Regions from separate parts of the Homo sapiens genome. Here regions 1, 2, 3 and 4 are each linked to region 5. Evidence: promoter capture Hi-C in 16 types of primary human blood cells and fetal thymus (Javierre and others, 2016). All regions are on one chromosome and are shown on one strand. Each heading gives the region's core, a stretch centred on a gene start or on the middle of the fragment in contact. The rest is flanking DNA. Distances are from core to core; before and after follow the strand shown. Region 1 has its middle 21 kb from the start of NOS2. Region 2 holds the start of NOS2 (nitric oxide synthase 2). Region 3 overlaps NOS2 (nitric oxide synthase 2). Region 4 has its middle 24 kb from the start of LINC01992. Region 5 holds the start of LYRM9 (LYR motif containing 9).

The links. The method cuts DNA at HindIII sites, captures the fragments that hold promoters and counts their contacts. A CHiCAGO score of 5 or more calls a contact.
Region 1: a fragment that was not itself captured here is called in contact with the fragment with the promoter of LYRM9 in region 5 in 1 of 17 cell types (non-activated CD4 T cells); the score reaches 5.2 in non-activated CD4 T cells.
Region 2: a contact is called between the fragment with the promoter of NOS2 here and the fragment with the promoter of LYRM9 in region 5, in 10 of 17 cell types (naive CD4 T cells, total CD8 T cells, non-activated CD4 T cells and 7 more). The highest score is 13.1, in naive CD4 T cells.
Region 3: a fragment that was not itself captured here is called in contact with the fragment with the promoter of LYRM9 in region 5 in 3 of 17 cell types (activated CD4 T cells, M2 macrophages and total CD4 T cells); the score reaches 5.3 in activated CD4 T cells.
Region 4: a contact is called between a fragment that was not itself captured here and the fragment with the promoter of LYRM9 in region 5, in 2 of 17 cell types (megakaryocytes and M2 macrophages). The highest score is 6.2, in megakaryocytes.

Annotation. Positions count from the first base shown.
Region 1 is chr17:27,820,291-27,822,990 of GRCh38, forward strand. No RefSeq gene overlaps it. Among named protein-coding and RNA genes, the nearest start is that of NOS2, 21 kb to the left of the region's middle. The HindIII fragment of the contact is 4,429 bases long and covers 1-2,700 here.
Region 2 is chr17:27,799,148-27,801,979 of GRCh38, forward strand. It overlaps NOS2 (nitric oxide synthase 2), which reads right to left and starts at 1,382. Exons shown (of 27, transcript NM_000625.4): 1 at 1,192-1,382. RefSeq lists promoters at 1,215-2,832, 1,295-2,412, 1,295-1,587, 1,346-2,832, an enhancer at 1,556-1,584 and a cis regulatory region at 1,897-1,919. The HindIII fragment of the contact is 2,695 bases long and covers 1-2,008 here.
Region 3 is chr17:27,780,656-27,783,355 of GRCh38, forward strand. NOS2 (nitric oxide synthase 2) reads right to left here. Exons shown (of 27, transcript NM_000625.4): 6 at 2,289-2,451; 7 at 1,360-1,451; 8 at 381-522; 9 at 112-251. Among named protein-coding and RNA genes, the nearest start is that of NOS2, 19 kb to the right of the region's middle. RefSeq lists an enhancer at 2,352-2,700. The HindIII fragment of the contact is 4,802 bases long and covers 1-2,700 here.
Region 4 is chr17:28,014,806-28,017,505 of GRCh38, forward strand. No RefSeq gene overlaps it. Among named protein-coding and RNA genes, the nearest start is that of LINC01992, 24 kb to the left of the region's middle. The HindIII fragment of the contact is 4,504 bases long and covers 1-2,700 here.
Region 5 is chr17:27,892,000-27,894,699 of GRCh38, forward strand. It overlaps LYRM9 (LYR motif containing 9), which reads right to left and starts at 1,366. Exons shown (of 4, transcript NM_001076680.3): 1 at 1,318-1,366. RefSeq lists a silencer at 998-1,547. The HindIII fragment of the contact is 2,313 bases long and covers 286-2,598 here.

The sequences.
Region 1 (2,700 bases), core at 71-2,570, 72 kb before region 5:
GCAGCACTAATCATTGCATCCCAGACTGGAAATAACCCAGATACCCATAACAGGAGAATGGGTAACTGAATACATAGTGCTTTATTCATAATTATTTCTAATTCTCATCATAACTCATTCTTCCATGTCGTATATTCATGATTATTTATAACAAAATATTGTACAGCAGAGATTGGTGAACTGTGACCCACAGGCCAAACTGTAGCCTACTTTTTGTTTGTGTGTTGCTTATTACTGCATTTGAGCTATGATGGCAGGGTTGAATAGTTGTGACAGAGACTATAGCTTTCATAACCAAAGGTATTTATTATCTGGTTCTTTGCAGAAATAGTTTGCTGACCGCTGGTAAACAGCAATGAAAAAGACAGACTCTCTATTATGTGCAAAAACATGGATGGATCTCACAGACATAATGTGGGGTAAAAGAAGCCAAATATGGTTGGGCATGGTGGCTCGTGCCTGTCATCCCAGCATTTTGGGGGGCCAAGGCAGGAGAATCACTTGAACACAGGAGGTGTAGGTTGCAGTGAGCTGAGATTGTGCCACTGCACTCCAGCCTGGGAGACAGAGTGAGACTCTGCCTCAAAAAATAAGAAGCCAAATACAAAAGAGTACAGCCCGTGTGATTCCATTTACACAAAGTCCAAAAACAAACAAAATTAATCCATGGTGATAGAGGTCAGAATAGTAGTTACAGTAGTGGCAGGGAGGTATGAGGAAGGGGCTCAAGGAAGCCTATGCTGTAGATCTTGATGGGGGCAGTGGTTCAACAGGAGTATAATTATGTCAAAATCAATCAAGCTGCACAATTAGATTTTGTGCACTGCATATCACTTCTACCCTAATTTTTGAAAAGGGGATCAATTGCTGGCCTCCAAGCAGGGCCTGCCACATGCAAAGCAGAGTGATGCAGTTTCCTCCTTCACCCCAGAGATTGGACGCAGTAATAGTAGGGCCATGTCACAGTCCCTTTCTGAATAGAGCACCCCCAGATGGTGGCTTTCCTACCCACAGGCCACCACGTATAATACCACTTGACCCCATCAACCTGGCTCCAAATTCCTGGATCCAGCTGATGGTGCCAAAGCCAACCTTCCATGTCTGGTCCTCAAACTTTAGTCCACTTACAAACCACCTGGGGGCTTGCTAGCAACACCGATTCCAGGTCCCTCTTCTCCCAATTCCTAGTTTTTTTGAGTCCTGGGTGGGATCCAGGAAACTGCATTGTCAGCAAGTCCTGCAGGTGATTTTGATGCAGATGGACCAGAGACTACACTGGAGAAACGCTCTGTGCAGGCTGAGGGAGTGGGCATGAGGAGGCAAAGGGGAGAAGGCAAGAGGGTGAAATTGCTCTTGACCAGAAAGGGAAGCAGGAGAGAGCTAAGAGGAAGATGTAGCGGAAGAGGAGGTGAGTGAGGCTGAGGGAGAGCAGGCGATGAGGTGGCCTTGATGAAGTCTGGCCATGTGGTGTGTCATGGAAAACCTGTTTCCTACCTCTCCACCAAAGAGTTGGTAAAATATCTGTTTATCAAGGGAACCACCCCCAATATTTCAACGTAAGTTCTCTTCTATTTCCCTAAGTGTCAGCCAGTCTGAGAAATAAAGGGAAAGAGTACAAAAGAGAGAAATTTTAAAGCTGGGTGTCCAGGGGAGACATCACATGTCGGCAGGTTCTGTGATGGCCCCCAGGCCGCAAAACCATTAAGTTTTTATTAGTGATTTTCAAAGGGGAGGGAGTGTATGAATAGGGTGTGGGTCACAGAGATCACATGCTTCACAAGGCAATAAAATATCATAAGGCAAATGGGGGCAGAGCGAGATCACAGGACCAGGGCAAAATTTAAATTGCTAATGAAGTTTTGGGCACGCATTGTCATTGATAACACCTTATCAGGAGACAGCGCTTGAGAGCAGACAACCAGTCTGACTAAAATTTACTAGGCAGGAATTTCCTCGTCCTAATAGGCCTGGGAGCGCTACGGGAGACCGGGGCTTATTTCATCGCTTATCCACAACCGTATAAGACAGACATTCCTAGAGCAGCCATTTTAGAGACCTCCCCCTAGGAATGTGTCTCTTTCTCAGGGCTGTTCCTTGCTGAGAAAAAGAATTCAGCGATATTTCTCCTATTCGCTTTTGTAAGAAGAGAAATATGGCTCTGTTCTGCCTGGCTCTCAGGCAGTCAGACCTAATGGTTATCTCCCTTGTTCCCTGAGCATCGCTGTTATCCTGTTCTTTTTTCAAGGTGCCCAGATTTCATATTGTTTAAACACACATGCTTTATGAACAATTTGTGAAGTTAACGCAATCATCACAGGGTCCCGAGGCAACATACATCCTCAGCTTACGAAGATGATGGGATTAAAAGATTAAAGTAAAGACAGGCATAGGAAATCACAAGAGTATTGATTGGGGAAGTGATAAATGTCCATGAAATCTTTGCAATTTTTGTTCAGAGATTGCAGTAAAGACAGGTGTAAAAAATTATAAAAGTATTAATTCGAGGAACTAATAAATGTCCATGAAATCTTCACAATTTATGTTCTTTTGCCATGGCTTCAGCCAGTCCCTCTGTTCAGGGTCCCTGACTTCCCACAACATCTGTTTCTTATTAATATGCTATGAGGTTGGCATTTGCAGGGTGTGTTGAAGGGCTGAGTCCACCTTTACAGGGTGAAAAAAGAGGCTGTCCAGAGAGGT
Region 2 (2,832 bases), core at 132-2,631, 93 kb before region 5:
ACCATGAGCCTCCTTAGCGGGACCTGCTGGCCCACCAGACCCAGCCAGGCTTCATCACTGGCCACAGGCAGGGTGAGGAAGAGCCCGGAGGTCGTTGAAACAGGGGTGCCTTTGCCTGACCCTGAAAGACACTTCCCAGCAGCTCTCATTATCAACTGTAGTTTTAGGTCTATTACTGGGGAAAGCACTCAAGCTGTAGCTACCTTTCTTTTAAAGATTTTGCAGTTGTTGTTCTAACTCAGCATTATTACTTGCTCCTCTTTTATTATGTGGGGAGGAAATATTTGTGAAAAATGCACTCATCCCTCGAAATCTGAGATCATCTCCTTTGAAACAGACAAGAGGAAGATCAAAGAGGCAAAAACTCTGTCTTTAGAAGACAGTGTAGTGAATATAGTCCATGTAAGAATTTTAGGCCAAGTGCAGTGGCTCACGCCTGTAATCCCAGCATTTCGGGAGACCGAGGCAGGAGGATCGCTTGAGTCCAAGAGTTCGAGTTCAGCCTGGGCAACATAGGGAGACCTTGACTACAAAAAATTGAAAAATTAGCCAGGCAGGCATGGTGTCTTGTGCCTGTAGTCCCAGCTACTCGGGAGGCTGAGGCAGAAGGATTGCTTGAGGCTGGGCAGTCAAGGCTGTTTCCAAAAAAAAAAAAGAAAGAAAGGGAAGGGAAGGGAGGGGAAGGGAGGAAAGGACAGGAAGGAAAGGAAGGAAAGAGGGAAAGAAAGAAAAGAACTTATAGCCCCATAGACCTGGGTTCAAATCCTGGAATCCTAGCTCTACCAGTTATGTGTCCTGGATCAAGTTATTTAACTGAAACTCATTTATTCATCCATAAAATGGGTTTAATATATCCATCTTACCAGGATTTGTGGGGAGGTTACATGTTATAAGGACTGATAAGATAATCTCTGTTAAAAAAAATTCTTAGCAGATACAAACTCCCATTTTGAACTTTTCAGAAAGTTTTTCCTTGTCATGTAACAACCACAGCTAATATTTGCAGAAAAGAAATCTGACCAAGATGCCATGTTCAAATGACCAAACCTCATGTCGGCATTTTTTTACCTAGACTTTCCAACACCTTCTCTCTGTAGGCAGAAAATTCCCACAATTTTCTGAGCCTTCTCAAAGAGGAAGAAACAAAACCCTCTCAAAACAGCCGCTTCCCCAGAAATGAAGGCAACTCACCTTGCAGCTGGCTGCACTGCCTCCCCGGGGTAAGGACAGTCAAACCAGGAAGAGACCTGTGCCTTGAGAACTTCGGGACTGTCTAGAACTGCCCAGTCCCCTCATCAAAGGTGGCCGAGAGATTTTAAAGCAGGAATGAGGCTGAGTTCTCTGCGGCCGGAGCCTCAGTTTTCGACTCGCTACAAAGTTATGAACACACTGGCAGCCAAGAAGTATTTATACTCACCCCATGCCATCCAGAGAGTTGTTTTTGCATAAAGGTCTCTTTTTTTTTTTTTTTTTTTTGGTTTCCAAAGGGAGTGTCCCCAGCTTGTGTACAGTTAGCTAATTTATGACTGTGACTGCCAGGGCCTGTGGGTGACCTGATCTTGCTGTTACATCACTCTGTGTGGTGCCTCTTCACCCAACCCACCTCTTTCTGGTCCCAAGTCCAAGGTGGCAGTTCATCAGCAGGGTGGCTGCTAAGATAGAGGCACCACGGAGCCAGGTTTTATTTGGCCAAGCCACATGGCCTCACTTTCAGCATCTGGGAGATTTTTTCCTCAGCAGGGAGCTCTCTGGTTAATCCCTGTCCATCCTCTCACTTTTCCAGCTTGTGACAGGAGTCCAGGAAGCTGGGGGAATATTGACAGTATGGAACACACTGGAAAATGCCCAGGTTCCAGAAGGCCAGTGATATTAGATGATGCCATTATTCCAGACAGGCCTCTGAACTAGTCACTTGAGGTTTTTGGAAGGGAAAGGAAGGAAGGCTATTGGCACAGAGAGGCCTCTGAGATGTTGGTCTTACTAACACCTCATCCTTTAGCACTAGGTAAGCTTTGGTGGAATGGCAGGTAGGATTAAATTCCTTCCCTTATAATGGAAATGATCACTTCTTACATGAAAAAGTGGTAATTTCTTATAATTTCATTTCATTTATTTTATTTATTTATTTATTTTTGAGATGGAGTCTCATTCTGTCACCAAGACTGGAGCGGAGTGGCACGATCTCTGCTCATTGCAACTTCTGCCTCCCAGGCTCAAGCGATCCTCCCACCTCAGCCTCCTGAGTAGCTGGGACTACAGGCATGCACCACCACACCCAGCTAATATTTTTGTGTTTTTGGTAGAGACTGGGTTTCACCATGTTGTCCATGCTGGTCTCGAACTCTGAAGCTCAAGTGATCTGCCCACTTCAGCCTCTCAAAGTGCTAGGATTACAAGGGTTAGCCACCATGCCCGGCCTATAATTTCATTCCTTATAATGCCTGAAATACAGTATTCCCATACATATGCATTTTTCCATCATAAAAGTAAAATAACAACTACATTAGGGAGAAGTTGAGAAGCAAAGGGAAAAAAAGTCACCCTTGATCTCACCGTCCCAACACTTTGCTACCACTGTCCACTCATTTCCTTCTTGTCTTTCCCAAGTTAAATTCAGCATAATATATTAACTTTGTCAAAGATAAACTAAGAGCCACAAAAAAGACATGGATATCAGAGCTCAAGGATCTTTGTTGAGTGAATGTGTGGATGAATGAATGAAAAATAGGAGTAAACTGGAATGAGTTTTAACATATCAAAGCCATCTTCCCTTCAGGCTTCAGCTCAATGCTGCGGCTCAATGCTGCGGCTTAGAGCTCTGGCTTATGGAGC
Region 3 (2,700 bases), core at 149-2,648, 110 kb before region 5:
GCTGCTGGCTGGGCTTTAGGGAAGGTATGGGGAAGGCTGGAGCCGCACTTAGGAAAGGAGAAGGGCTGTGTGTTGACTCGCCCTTGCCCCCAGCACCCTCAGCCTACTTACTTGGGATGTTCCATGGCCACCTCAAGCACAAGGTCAGGTGGGATTTCGAAGAGCTCAGGGTCACGGCCATTGGCCTGCAGGACCAGGGGGACCACATCGAAGCGGCCGTACTTGGGCTTCCAGCCCAGGTCGATGCACAGCTGGGGAACAAGACGGGCCCTGTGAGTCTGTAAGCCCGGGCTGCGTGTCTCCTCTGGGCTCCACTCTGTCACTCGCTCACCACGGGGCTCCCCGCCCCAATGGCCGGTGGCTGAGGCTGGGCCGGGTACCTGAGTGAATTCCACGTTGGCAGGGTCCCCTCTGATGCTGCCATCTGGCATCTGGTAGCCAGCATAGCGGATGAGCTGAGCATTCCACACCCGGAAGTCGTGCTTGCCATCACTCCGCTGGGGGAACACGGTGATGGCCGACCTTCCCAGGACAGGAACAGTACTGTTTACCACCTAGCCCTGGTGGGGGCCCAGCCATCCTGCACTGGCCCTACCTCCCTCTCCACCCTACCTGCTCTGCAGCCCCTGATCCCAAGCTGACTGAGCCAGCCTCCTGACATGCCTTCTCCTGCTGCCCTCCCTCAAGACCCAGGGTCCACCCCCTCAAGGGGGCCTTCCCATCCATCAGGCAGGGTTAGCTGATCTGCCAGTCTTTCCCTCACTGCCTATGTCTCCGTCCTTGCAGTTGAGTTAGCTGGTTGCCTGTCTAGTGCAGGTCATAGGCTCACACCAGCTGGAGCAGCATCTTAGGGTCCTAGTCACTCTTCCTCCTACCCCCCCATACCCCATCTTCCCCCTGCTCTCCCAGCCTTGTCCTGTGTTGAGTTGCATTAGGTAGGCACTGAGTGTTTGCTGAACAAAAAGATGAATGAATGACCAAATGAGCTGTTCAGTCCTATTAGCTTTGACCTCGTTGGTTGGGAGAGGAAGGTAACCTCTTAATGTCCCATGCCTTCTAAAAAATGGGAGCCCCAACCCTGAATAGTGAAGCAGTTACTTCTTAAAGATCCTCCATCCCCTCCAAGTGGCTCCACATCAGAAGGAAACCAAGGGCATGGGTTGCCGATGGGAGCTGAGCTCACAGGGGCTGGGCTCACTACTGGAAGTCCCCGAAGAAGCCTGAGTCTTTCTCTTTTTTCTTTCTCCCTGGTTTCTCCTGGAGCTGGAGATGCCTCCCCTAGACCCAAGTGCTGCATCTTTTGGCTAAGATTCTCAGGCAAGGCAAGCCCCTCTGCAGCCCTGGGAAATGTGCACCGACCTGATGTTGCCATTGTTGGTGGAGTAACGCACGTGTCTGCAGATGTGTTCAAACATTTCCCGGGCAGTGGAACAGCTGCGGGCATCGAAGACCTGCAACAGCCCATCCAGACCATGCCCATCAAAGACTGGGTAGACAGAGGCTTTGAGGCTGATCAGAAGTCACTGGGAATCAATAGTGCAGCCGAAACACTCAACACACAAACACTCAACACCATGCCGAAGAGTGCAGCCTCCAATCTGCACCTGCCACTCAACACCATGCAGAAGAATTCAGCCTCCCATCTGCACCACCGCTCCCATTTCATGGCTGCCCTCTAGGGGAGCACAGGCAACCCCACTCAGAAGACCCCAGCAAACCCAGAATTCCAAGAAAACCTGACTTGAAAGCACCATGAATCGGGATTGCCACAGCCCCAGGCTAGGTCCTTTCCCACACCAGCACATACTACACAGCCAGAGTTGGTTTCACTGGCAGTTCTAATCGATTTCTCTGTCCAAGTGCTTTTGATATTATCCTGCAACAAATGACTCCCCAACAAAAAGATGGCCTAGGAGGCTAGGCTAAATAAAATGTTCTCTTGGAGCCAAGAATTCAAGCATTGGAGGAAAACAACACATCTTGCAGCACCACGGCCTCAAGTGTAATAAAAACAAGGTCGTGGTTTACTCTAATGATGGCATTTAGTCTCCTGAATTTAACACAATAGAGAATGGGCAGCTAGAAACCCTGGTGCTGAAACAGGATTCAAGGCTTCTAGAGAGGGACCCTAGGTGCCCCATCTCAACATTTGGGAATGTAAGAGAGGATCCAGGGCCATGGCTTCAGTCCCAGGAGGCCTGGGCACAGCTCTGTGTGGCTGTTCCAAGCCATCTGCTCAGGGCCTGGCCGCCTCCAGCTCTCTCCCGCTCAAGTCTAAGGAAGTTCACCTGCAGGTTGGACCACTGGATCCTCCCAATGCAGCGTGGGGCATTGCGCCAGGCCTGCTTGGTGGCGAAGATGAGCTCATCTCCCGTCAGTTGGTAGGTTCCTGTTGTTTCTATCTCCTTTGTTACCGCTTCCACCCTGGCCAGATGTTCCTCTATTTTTGCCCTGGGGGACAGGAAGACAGCAGGAAGATCAACAATGAGATGGCCTTACATGGGGATTAATTCAATCCACAGAAGCAGGAACTGAAATAGGACATCAGAAGGGCAAGATGCCTCTCACCAGAGACAGCTCCCTCCAGGGCTGGCTTTGGGGACCTCACACTTAGCCTAGAAGCACCCCACGCTCAATGCTCTGCTGTCCCCATCTTGAAATTCTTAATCATTTTAAAATAAAGAGCCCACATTTTCATTT
Region 4 (2,700 bases), core at 121-2,620, 120 kb after region 5:
TGTCTTTGAGTAGCAGACAAATACAGTCCTCATTTATACACTTCTTGGAATTGCTGGGTCATATGATAATTCTGTATTTAACATTTTAAGGAACCAACAAACTGTTTTCCACCATGGCTGAACCATTTTACATTCCCACCAGCGATATAAGAGGGTTCCAATTACTTCACATCCTGATCAACACTTACTATTATCTATCTTTTCTTAATTATAGCCCTCTTAGTAGGTGTCATGCCCTAATAACTAATGATGCTTAGTATTTTTATGTGCTTGTTGGCCATTTGTACATTCTCTTTGGAGAAATGTCTATTCAAGTTTTTTCCCATTTAAAAAAAATAATTATTTATTCTTAGAGCCTGGATCTTGCAATATTACCTGGTCTACACTTGAACTCCTAGGCTGAAGCAATTCTTCTCCTGAGTAGCTGGGGCTACAAGCACATGCGACCCTGCCCTGCACTTTTTGCCAACTTTAAAGTTGGGTTGTTTGTCTTTTTATTGTTGAGTTGTAAGAGTTCTTTATAGTCCAGATAGTAGACCCTTACCAAATATATAATTTACAAATATTTTTGACCATTCTGTAAGTTGTCATTTTACTTTCTAAAACTATCCTTTGAGGCACAAAATTTATTTGTTTATTGCTCATACTTTTGGTGTTCTATGTAAGAATTCATTGCCAAATCCGAGATCATGAAGATTTATCTTTGTTTTCTTCTAAGAGTTCTGTGGTTTTAACTCTTGTATTTATGTCATTAATGCATTTTAAGGTAATTTTTGCTTATGGTATGAAGTAGGTATCCAACTTAATTTTTTTGTATGTGGTTATCCAATTGTCCCAGCACCATTTGTTGAAGAGATTATTCTTTCTATATTGCATGGACTTGGTGTCCTTGTCAAAAATCAGCACCATAAACGTGTGAGTTTATTTCTGGACTTTCAATTCTCTTCTATATCTCTATCCTTATGCCAGTACCATACAGTTTTAATTAGTGTACCTTTGTAGTAAGTTTTGAAATTGGGAAGTATAACTCTTCCAACATTGTTCTTTTCCTTCAATATCATTTTGACTATTTGAGGTCCTTTGCAATTACATTTTAATCTGAGGATTGGCTTTTCCATTTCTGCAAAAAAGTCTTTAAAATTATGATAGGGATTGCATTGAGTATGTAAATCACTTCGGGCTTTACTGCCATCTAAATAATATTAAGTCTCCAACCTATGAACAAGGAATGTCTTTCCGTTTCTATAGGTCTTCCTTAAATTTTTTCAGCAATGCTTTTATAGTTTTCAGTGTACAAGTCTTTCATCACCTTGGTTAAACTTATTCCTGGGCATTATATATCTGGGGAGAATGCTAAAAAGGATCATTCTTACTGGTGTGCAGAGAAGAGTCCTCACAGGAGAAAGGTTAAAAGCAGCAAGATGCATTGTATATTCCTGGTGAGAGATGATGATGCCTTGGGCAATAGGGTAGTCTCAGGAATGGCAAGAAGAGGTTGAATTCAGGATAACTTTGGAAGGTACAGCCAAAAGACAAGATTGACTGAGATATGGGAAAATTCTGAGTCAAGGATCACTTCAAGGTTTTTGACCTAAGTAATTGGTGAATGATGGTGTCATTTACTGAGATGGAGAACACTGGACAAGGCACAAGGGAAAAAAGAACTTAATTTGGACAAATCGAGTTTGAATTGTCTGTTAGAGATGGTTATTGTTTACCACAATTTATAATTGCATATCCATTTGTTTATTTGTTTATTGTTATTATTTATAGTTTCAATGGCTAGAAATGTTTACTTTATTAACTGTTGTGTCCCTCAGTAGACAGCAAACTCCATGAGGGTAAGAACCAAATCTGTCTATTAACTGTTGTATCCTCATGCCTAACACAATGCCTGGCACATAGTAAGTTATCACTAAATATTTTTTAACAAATCAAAATGCAAGGCCAGCCAGACATAGTGGGTGTGTCTGTAGTCCCAGCTACTCAGGAGGCTGAGATGGGAGGATCATCTGAGCCTGGGAGGTCAAGGCTGCCAAGATTATGCCACTGCAGTCCAGCCTGGGCAACAGAGTGAGAACCTGAAAAAAAAAAAAAAGCCAGGCCAGGTCCAGGTGGTTTTTCCTATATTCCTGATTTATAATATTACCTTCAGGTGTACATCCTTGTTCTTTACTTACTACTGCATTTCCAGTACTTTTTATTTTTGTAAGAAGTGAGGTTCCTTTATTCAAAATTTGACAAATCATGAAATGCCTCTCACCCCATCTCCTTACTCCTTACACTTTACCTTTCCATCCATGTAATCTCTGGCACAATGTCATGACTTAACAAATGCCAAGAAATGTAAGAAGAAAAGACCTAGTACTTCTCAATAACAATAGCTAATATGTATTGAGTGCCAATTATGTGTCAGGCACGGTGTAAAATGCTCTGTATCATCTCATCCAATGTTTCTAACAAATGTATCAGCACAAAGCCTGAAGCGTTGTTGCATCTTTTCAGTTTTAGGGTCATATTCTTTGGAATATGAGTTTGTCCGTGTAGCCAAAGGGAACAGTTGAGATGGGTACATTAATTTACCTAAGTGAGTATATATAAATGTCATTTTTTAAAAAGATGCTGGCTACGCCAGCATAAATAAAGCCTTGGAGAATCTTGCAACTGGGCAAATGAGTAAATTTAAGGTATTCATTTCAA
Region 5 (2,700 bases), core at 116-2,615:
GGGATCACTGCAGTCACAACTGCCCGGGCTCAAACGATTCTACCTCAGCCTCTCAAGTGGCCGGGATCACAGGCACACGCCACCACGTCTGGCTAATTTTTTTAATTATTTATAGAAACGAAGTCTTACTATGTTGCCCAGGCTGGTCTCAAAATTCTAGGCTCAAGTGATCCTCTTTCCTCAGCCTCCTACGGTGCTGAGATTATGGGCATGAGCCACTGCGCCCAGCGTTGAACATCTTACCCTTTCCTACTTTATTTGGCTTTCTGTTCCTTGCTGACTGTAAGCTTCTGAAGAACAAGAAACTATACTGTATTAGTTCAACACCTGTGAAATGAAGGGAAATTAGTAAGAAAAATATATATACGGTTATTAGTCACTCCTCCACAGTTTATAGTACCTGAACCATAACAGAAGTTCCATAGATGTCAATTGATTCCCAAGTTACCAGAGGAAACTAAAGCCAGCAGGAAACTGTCCTGAAGTCAAGAACCTATGGCAGGTGAACCCAGAAAACATTACGCTAAGTGAACAAACCCAGTCACAAGGGGCTACTTAATGTATGATTCCATTTATACGAAACATCCAGAATAGGCAAAAGTACAGAGACAGAAGTACATTGGTGGTTGCCTAGGGCTGGGAGAATGGGAGTAGATGGGAGGGGGGAGTGACAGCTAAAGGAGGTGTTTCTTTTGGGGGGTAATGTTCTAAAACATTATGGTGACAGCTGCACAACTCTGCAAACACACTAAAAGACACTGAATTGTGCACTTTAGATGGGTGAACTGTATGCTTCGTGAATTATATCTCAATAAAACTTTTTAAAACAATAACCACAAAAAGGATCAATCCTAGGAGCGAAAGGGTTTTGGCCACGGAGCAACTTGCTCTTACGCAGAAGCATAAATCATCACGACAAGGTTGCTCCGGCCACCGGGTGCCGCGGGCAGAGGGACGGTGGAGGGGACATTCTCCTTTTAAAAGTGGCCAGGCCCGTGAGCCTCTGAGAGGCTGGCCTCCGGGCTGCCCCGGACCTCGCGCCCCTAGCTCGCGCTGCAGGCCTTTCCTGCTCCTCCGAGGCCGCCCGGCCAGGCCTGCGTCAAGCCCGGGCGCCGCGCTCCGGTGCACTCAGCTCTCCGGTGGAAGAGCGCAGACCGCAAGGGAAAAGGTGCCGGCGCGGGTCGCCCCTAGGTCTTCAATAGATCCGAGGACACCCGAGGCCTCCACATCCCTAGCCCGCCCCCGCCACCCAGTGGCTCCGGCCGCCGCTGCCCCCGCGCCCCCGCCCTCGGCCTCGGCCTGCGCAGCGCGGCTCACCAGCCTCCAGGGGAACGCCAGCCCCGGACGCCGCCGCGGCGACGAGTGCGCCTGCGCCCCGGGGACTGAGCGGCACCGCCCCTGCCCGGCGACGGTGAGCCCAGCGCCCTCTGCCGGCCGCGCGCGGGACTCGGGGTCCTACTGGGTGCCTCTTCCTAGATCCGACCCCACCCAGTTGAAAGCTGTCCCCACTAACAGCCTTCGTTACCTGTTACCTCAAACACCCACTCTGCCTTCTGGCTGTTGCTACGCCGGATATAAGCCCTAAAGGCACTCTCTCCTCCTTATTCCTGAATATGGATTGTGCTATGAATATGGGGTGTTCAAGATCTCTGAAAGGCTTGCTGGAGGACTTTTCCTGAACCTCTCGTGTTGATGACAAGAATTGTGTTTGGATAGGAATCTGCGTTTTGAATCATTTCACCAAATTACAGTCCCATAACACCTGTCAAAAGAATAAATATGACAGTAATAAGCATGCTTCCTTTCAGACCCATCTATAATTATAATTGAGGAAAATAATACAAAATTTAAACTTAGAGCTACTGCCAGTATCATTCTTTGAAAATGAAATAATGCTGTTTATTAAATAGGCTCTCCCTGCTCTCTAATGTTTAAAGCTCAAGTGCTTCTCTGAATTGATTTAAATACAAGTTTTATATCCTGAAAGAAATCAAGATGAGTCATTATCTTAAGACAAACCCCCCTGTTCAATGATGCTGCTGATCTCTCAGCTGATGTCTAAGCGGGAGTTAGGTTGTTAGTGGATAATATTGCTTCTGTTCACGTCTCTCTTCTCCAGGGCTTTTTAAACCTGTTTGTAACGAAAAGGCTGATTTCCTTCAGACTCCATGTGTCGTTGATTTAACAGGACAACTTCTTACAGGTTTTTCTTTTTCCTTTTTCTTTTTTTTTTTTTAAGTAAAACATTGCTCCCCGGTGGCACCTGGGAATCTGTTTTTCTTCTCTTAGGATAAGAGAAGCAGGGATATTTCTTAACGGAAGTTTTGTTTTGTTCCTAACTCCCTTTAGAGCTTCCTCTTTTCTTTTTTTTTCTCTTCACCTAACATACTAGACTTCCCTCAAATCGGGGGTGGGGGATGGGAAGGTGGGGTTCCCTCCCTTGAAATATTCAGATAATTGCTTCCATTTATTTTAAAGATGTAGACTTGGACAAATATATCTGAAAGATACAATTGTACCCTCATAAATCAGCCCTCTTATTTACACATGCATAATCAAGGGCACGTCATTAATGCAGAGCCAATCAATAAATCATTAAGCTTTTAAAGCCCTTATTAAGAACAATCTGCAGTAACATCATCCACTCCTGTGCTCAGTCTTAGGATCATTTAATAATTTTAAGAAATTTCACAGTCTGTT